Regions from separate parts of the Homo sapiens genome. Here region 1 is linked to region 2. The links are contacts of gene promoters, found by promoter capture Hi-C in blood cells and fetal thymus (Javierre and others, 2016). All regions are on one chromosome and are shown on one strand. Each heading gives the region's core, a stretch centred on a gene start or on the middle of the fragment in contact. The rest is flanking DNA. Distances are from core to core; before and after follow the strand shown.

What was found. The method cuts DNA at HindIII sites, captures the fragments that hold promoters and counts their contacts. A CHiCAGO score of 5 or more calls a contact.
Region 1: a contact is called between a fragment that was not itself captured here and the fragment with the promoter of PVT1 in region 2, in 1 of 17 cell types (non-activated CD4 T cells). The highest score is 5.0, in non-activated CD4 T cells.

The regions. Positions count from the first base shown.
Region 1 is chr8:128,626,653-128,630,018 of GRCh38, reverse strand. No RefSeq gene overlaps it. Among named protein-coding and RNA genes, the nearest start is that of LINC00824, 64 kb to the right of the region's middle. The HindIII fragment of the contact is 2,273 bases long and covers 781-3,053 here.
Region 2 is chr8:127,793,180-127,796,418 of GRCh38, reverse strand. It overlaps PVT1 (Pvt1 oncogene), which reads right to left and starts at 1,895. Exons shown (of 9, transcript NR_190187.1): 1 at 1,685-1,895. MIR1204 (microRNA 1204) reads right to left here and starts at 457; the gene lies at 391-457. RefSeq lists enhancers at 420-759, 860-909, 631-1,202, 1,203-1,772, 2,915-3,239 and silencers at 1,890-2,049, 2,060-2,119, 2,140-2,189. The HindIII fragment of the contact is 6,547 bases long and covers 387-3,239 here.

The DNA of each region.
Region 1 (3,366 bases), core at 668-3,167, 830 kb before region 2:
GTGAAAACTTTGGAGAGTTTATCTTACTTTTGCAGCCTTTTATACCCTGGATAATTTGTAGATTATATTTACCAAGGCAGGACGCTGAGAATCCAGGTTTATACTAGTAAAGGACGGCTGGTGGGGGTCCAAGAAAACAGTAGAACATTTAGCAGACTTCGGTGGTCTCATTAAGCTTAGTATGTGTTTTCTAATTTCACCTGGATTTTTATTCATATCATACAACCTAACAGCTCACATGTCAGCTTACCATATGGAGACTCTCAGTTCTGCATGCGTAAGTCATAAAGGATCTCAGTAAAGTCTCATTGCCTTTACAGTGGTATTTTGATAAGTGCACTTACTTTGTTGTCATGTCTTTGTCTTTCTACTCCAGTGCCTATCTAATTACCTGTCACATAGTCAGAGCTCAATAATGCTTCCCAAAGCATTCATCTGCATCATTGCTCGGTACCTTAATCTCTTCCTTCACGGTCTCTTGCAAATATTATGTCATAATCTACCCACAAGCCACCAAGAAGTAGGTGGAAAATGTTATTCTCATTTCACTGATGGCAAATATCAGATAAAATAGGAACCACATGATTTACCTGTTATCTTACATAGCGTTAAGGGCACAAATATAGTTTGCAAAATAGTATTTGTTAAGTCAAATGTCGCTGAGAGACAGTGAAGTGAAACAGAATGAGTGTGGAATCTGCAACAAATTCTAGAGCTCATTTTTACTAGCTTCTGTCAACTGTGTCAGTTACTTCCCTTGGTTTTCTTGGGTACCAAGCTTCAATGCCTTTCAGGTGCATTGTAATTTTTGGCTAAAAAGAATGACTGTCTACAATTTCATGATGCTCAAACAGTTCTGTGCATATTCAAAAAGTTTTATTTCAGTTTTATGCCCAACTAACTTTCCTTCTGTAACTCAGTCTCAAGTACAGGTGTGACAGTGATATAGGACAAAGCTGGGGGAGTCCTAGTGTTAAATAGATAGCACACTGGTTTTCTTATTTCCAAAGGCTAACAGAAGATTCTTTCCCTGGCTTTCTTATTAAAATGCATTGTCTCCCATGATGTGTCTCAACCTTTCTGATAAAGTGTCTTGTGATAGTTCCGCTTTATTGATGAGCCAGACATGATTATATTTGAAATATCAAGTGTAGGCATAGAATAGGGTGAAGCTGGAATCATTAACCATAGAGATATGTACAGGGTACAATTGGGACAAAGAGATAAATGAGAGAAGCAATCAAGTAAACTTAGAGAAGGAGGAATAAAAGGGGGCATAGGAAAAATTTCAATGTAAAAGTGATTCTTCTGTTAGATCTTGAAGGATCCTGGTGACTAAAAATCTCACCAAGGCAACACAAAATTAAAACCACTTTAGCTAAAGGAAACCAAGGAGGCAAAGAAGTGGGAACCATGGCCGGGTGTGATGGCTCATGCCTCTAATCCCAGCACTTTGGGAAGCTGAGGTGAGCAGATCACTTGAGGTCAGGAATTCTAGACCAGCCTGGCCAACATGGTGAAACCCCCTCTCTACTAAAAATACAAAAAGTCCAGGCATGGTGGTGCATGCTTGTAATCCCAGCTACTCAGGAGGCTGAGGCATGAGAATTGCTTGAACCCGGGAGGCAGAAGTTGCAGTGAGTCAAGATTGCACCACCACACTCCAGCCCGGGCAACAGAGTGAGGCTCTGTCTCAATTAAAAAAAAAAAAAAAGTGAGAACCACTATCATGGTAGGAGGCAATCAATTCTGTTTTAGCAGAAAACACCAGGGGGTATATGGCTAGAGATGGAGCAGAAAAAGGGCTTTTAATACTCATGAATGAAAGAAAGGAAAGAATAAAGGACAGAAAAGAGGGAAGGAGGATGGGGAAGGAAGAGGGAGAAAGAGAGACAGAAAGACAGAGAGAGACAGAAGAAAATTGTTAGAGGCATTATTACAAAATATATTTATTAGTTTGGCATTTAAAACTTTCTCTAGACTTAGATTTATTTGTTTTGAGATGAAGTCTCACTCTGTAGCTCAAGCTGGAGTGCAGTGGTACAGTCTCGGCTCACTGCAACTTCTGCCTCTGGGGCTCAAGCGATTCTTGTGCCTCAGTCTCCCAAGTAGCTGGGACTACAGGTACACGCCACCATGCCCAGCTAATTTTTGTATTTTCGCAGAGATGGGGTTTCACCATGTTGCCCAGGGTGGTCTCGAACTCCTGAGCTGAGTTGTGTTTTTTTTTTTGAAACGCAGTCTTGCTCTGTCACCCAGGCTGGAGTGCAGTGGGCCAATCTAGGCTCACTGCAACCTCTGCCTCCTGGGTTCAAGCGATTCTCCTGCTTCAGTCTCCCGAGCAGCTGGGACTAAGGGCGTGTGCCACCACGCTCGGTTAATTTTTTTTATTTTTAGTAGAGGTGGGGTTTCACCGTGTTAACCAGGATGGTCTCAATCTCCTGACCTCGTGATCCACCCGCCTTGGCCTCCCAAATTGCTGGGATTGCAGGCGTGAGCCACCGGGCCTAGCCTGAGTTTTAATACAGGCCCTTTGATTTCAAAGCCCATGCTTATTCTCTGGTGCCACCCAGCACCTCCAAGATAACTTCTGGTGAGGACTTTGCTGTCACTGAAACTGGTAAATTCTGATGTTTGCTTACAAATTAGCAGTGCTCCTTTGTGCTTAAACTTTAACAGTTTGAATGAGATAGTTGCCACCTCACTTTGGATCTCTTTCCCATAGTCCCAAAGCACTTTGAAGGGCCTATGTAAGAAGAGACAACTGAACAGATATTTACTAAAGCCCAACTCTGACTTTAATTAGACCTATAATTTTGGCAAGACACACAAAACTTTTCTTTCAAGGTTTTTCATTTAGTAAAATATTTTAAAGGAGATCAGTTTTGAATATTTAAGTAAGAAGCTCATGTGGGGATATTAGAAAGATCTGGGTTTGAACCTTCACTCTGCCACTTTCTACATGCATAATCTTTATTATTAGTTAACTGCTTTGACACTCAGATTTCTTATTTTTAAAATGGGGAAAATGAAAATCATACGTTTTCAAAGCTTTCATATGAAGATGAAATATGACCACATCTGTAATGTTCCTACTGCAGTACCTACTACAGATCTTTAGAAGTAGAAGGTAAATTTACTTTTCACATGCACAGAGCTTCATATGAAAGAAAAATTGTCCTTATACTTTCTGACCTCGGTTATGGAGCAAATACCAAGTGATTGGGCTGCTTTGGAGAATTTCCCAGGAGGTTTGGGGCAGAGGTGGGAAACCCCCTCTGTTGCATGTCTAAGTACAAGATTTCAATTCAGAGACAGTCTGCAGGGCTTTTGCCTAATACATTATTTCCATTACTTCCCCTGCAC
Region 2 (3,239 bases), core at 646-3,145:
ACCAGCAATCATATAAACTAGTGGGGATCAGATATGTCAGAACAGAGGGGAGAACTCCTCCTTTCCAGTGCAGAAAAGCTCCAGCCACAGAAACACAGCATGGAGGTGGCGAGGGGCGGGGGAAGGTGTTTAAGACAGAGGAAAAGGAAAGTTAATCAGAAAAAAAACAAAACAAAACAAAAACGGACTTCTATTTTTCAAGAGAAGCCGTTTATGCAAAAATTCTGCACTCAAGATAGATGAGGCAACAAGAATAAGCCACTCTTAACCAGGCAAAACAGCAACACAACCACTTAACAAATCCCTCTGGGAATTCAATGGGTACAGCATATACCCCACAGTCATACCCGTAAGTGGAATTCCAGTTGGGCCCTTGTGCCGAAGCTTTAGACCACGAGGCACGTCCTCACCTCCAAGATGTAACTCATCTCAAATAATGGAGACCAGGCCACGAGGTTTCTCCCAGACACGGATTCTGTATTTGTCCTTCTGCAGCTTCCGGGAAGGTTTTTCTCCTAATAAATCCTGTAGAAAGTTCCACTCAGGGTTCTGAGGATTGATACAACCCCCTTCTTGACTGATCAGAGCTTTAGAAAGATTCGCTATGACCACAGGACTGTGTCAAGTTGAACAAGTCTCAACTTGTCGCTGCCAGTATGCAAAATAGGTCTGAAACATCTTATAACAGACAACACAGCAGACACAGTCCCTGCATCCTCAGGGCCCCCGCCCACCCACCACACACAAACACATTTCTCTAGAGTTTTTTTTTCCTAGCAAGGAACTAGCCCCAGTAGCCAGGATTCACAGTGGTGGAGTGGGCGAGAGACAGGCTAACAGCCTCTCTCTGGAAAACCTAATACCAGAAAGGAAACACCAAAACCTCATCCTCTTGTCCCTAAATCCTTGCACGTGATTTCTTCTCCTCTCTAATGTTCTAGAAGGGCCTAAAGTCAGGAGCTTAGATGAACAGAAGAATCTTCCATGCCTGCAAACCACCAGGAAAAGGCATGAGGCATCCACACACAGACGCATGCAGCTTCATGGCTGTGCTTCCTGAAAGTCTACACCCAGAACCACAAACACTGGCATAAATAAGAGCACGTTAGCAAGAGAAGGCAAACCTAATTAAATCAACAGCCCAGCCAAGAAGAATGACCATGATGAGGGTTTAGGAGCACCCAACAAACCCTCACATGCGATGCAAAAACTGAGAAAGTCTCAAAACACGGAGTTACTGAGTTTTTGGAAATCACCTTCGCCCAGCCCTGAGGGGGTGTGAGAGGAAGCGGGGAGTGATGGTCAAAGGATGGAGGGAGGATCACACATTCACAGACCTCTAGTTTCGCCAGAGGGGCCTCCAAACCACATCATGGCTCCAAATCTGTTCTGACTGCAGAGGGGTCTATTTTTAGAAATTAGTTAATATGCCTTTGATCAAGTTCATAAATCCAGAATTGCCTCTATGCACCGGCCATTCGGTGTCATCCCCCTCCCCTCACCCTCCCCAAACGCCCAAACTCGCCACCAGTCTTGAGGCTGGTGATGAGGACAGTGCACGCCTAGCACACACATATTGGATTCCGAAAGCCCCTTTCCTCCGTCCGACTACTCACAGCGCATCCCTACTCAGGGCCAAGTCTCGAGAGTTTCCAGAAACGCAGGGGACAAAATTGGAACTTACTGGAGGGCAGATCTGGCCGTGTCTCCACAGGTCACAGGGACCGCCAACATCCTTTCCGCAAGGAAATCCACTGGAAGGTGCCGGGGGTCCCGGGGCACATCTTTGCTCGCAGCTCGTCGTCGCCCCTCCTCGTCCCGGCCGCCCCGAGCCCGCCCGGCCCGCGGGCCCATGTGCTCGGCCGCCACACGCGCTCTGCCCGGAGGAGCGCGGGGCTGGCGGGTTGCCCGTGACGTCACGGCGGCTCGCGCTCGGGCCTCGGGGGAGGGGGGAGGCGCGCGCGGCCCGGCCCGCCGCGTGCGTCCTCGGTCCCGGCGCTCCCGGCCTTCCCCAGGTCCCCGCCCGCCGCCCGGTGCGCCCCTCAGCCTGCTTCCCGGCAGCGCAGGGCACTGAGCCGGAGAGGGCCGCGCGCGGAGGCGGGGCGGGCTTGGGCGACTGCGGCCGCCAAGGGCCCAGACTGGGGGAGCGGAGGGTAGGCTCTGCCCTGGGCTGGGGGTCCTCGCTACAAGCGCGCCGGAGTCCCACCGGGCCGGAGGGAATCCCCGGTGATGCCAGCTCGCTTGTGCGCCGAGCTTTCCACGGTCTTTCCCTGAGCCCTCTTACCCTTCCCCACACCGTCCTGGAAGCAAGCGGTCTTCCCACTTTCCTGCTGAGGAAGGCGAGTTCAGTGAAATAGGAGGGCCAGAGATGCTCCGGGATAGGTGCAGTTCCCGCAGAAGACCGCCGACTGAGCTCCAGCTCCAGTGATCTGAGCGCCTCTTTGGGTACCACCCAGCATCCGCCGGCCTGGTGAGAAGGGCGCGCGCACCTTCTCGCCTCCTTCGACGTCTCCCGCTGTTTCCAGAAGCCGAGTTGCAAACCCGTGCAGAGGGCCAGCGGTCTGCGCAGCTCCCTCCACTCCGGGCAGAGTTGACCTACAGAGTGTGTTCAACGAGTCCCTTAAATGCCCAGTAGTTCCTCCAAAGGAGCAAGTGGACACTGGCCTCCCATGTGGGATGTGGTTATCTTGTTCTATCTGCATAAACCCGAGACTGGACAGATGTAAGAGCTGCCCCTGTTCAGTTCAAAGTTTATTTTATTTATTTATTTATTTATTTATTTATTTATTTATTTAGAGATGAAGTTTCACTCTGTCACCCAGGCTGGAGTGCAGTGGCCCGATCATGGCTCACTGCAACCTCCGCCTGCCTGGTTCAAGCGATTCTCCTGCCTCAGCCTCCGGAGTAGCTGGGATCACAGGCGCGCGCCACCACGCCCAGCTAATTTTTGTAATTTTAGCAGAGACAAGGTTTCACCATGTTGGCCAGGCTGGTCTCGAACTCCGAACCTGAGATGATCCACTCGCTTCGGCCTCCCAAATTGCTGGGATTACAGGCGTGAGCCACCACGCCAGCGCCCGTCCAGTTCAACGTCTACTGAGCACTTAAGGGGAGTCAGGCACCCAGCTAGGCAATGGGGTGGGGGTTACTCATGGACCCTAGAAGGACGTCACAAACCAGCAAAAATTGGACACACAAATGGGTGGTATCAATATTACGGAACAGAAGGTTGCCCCTCT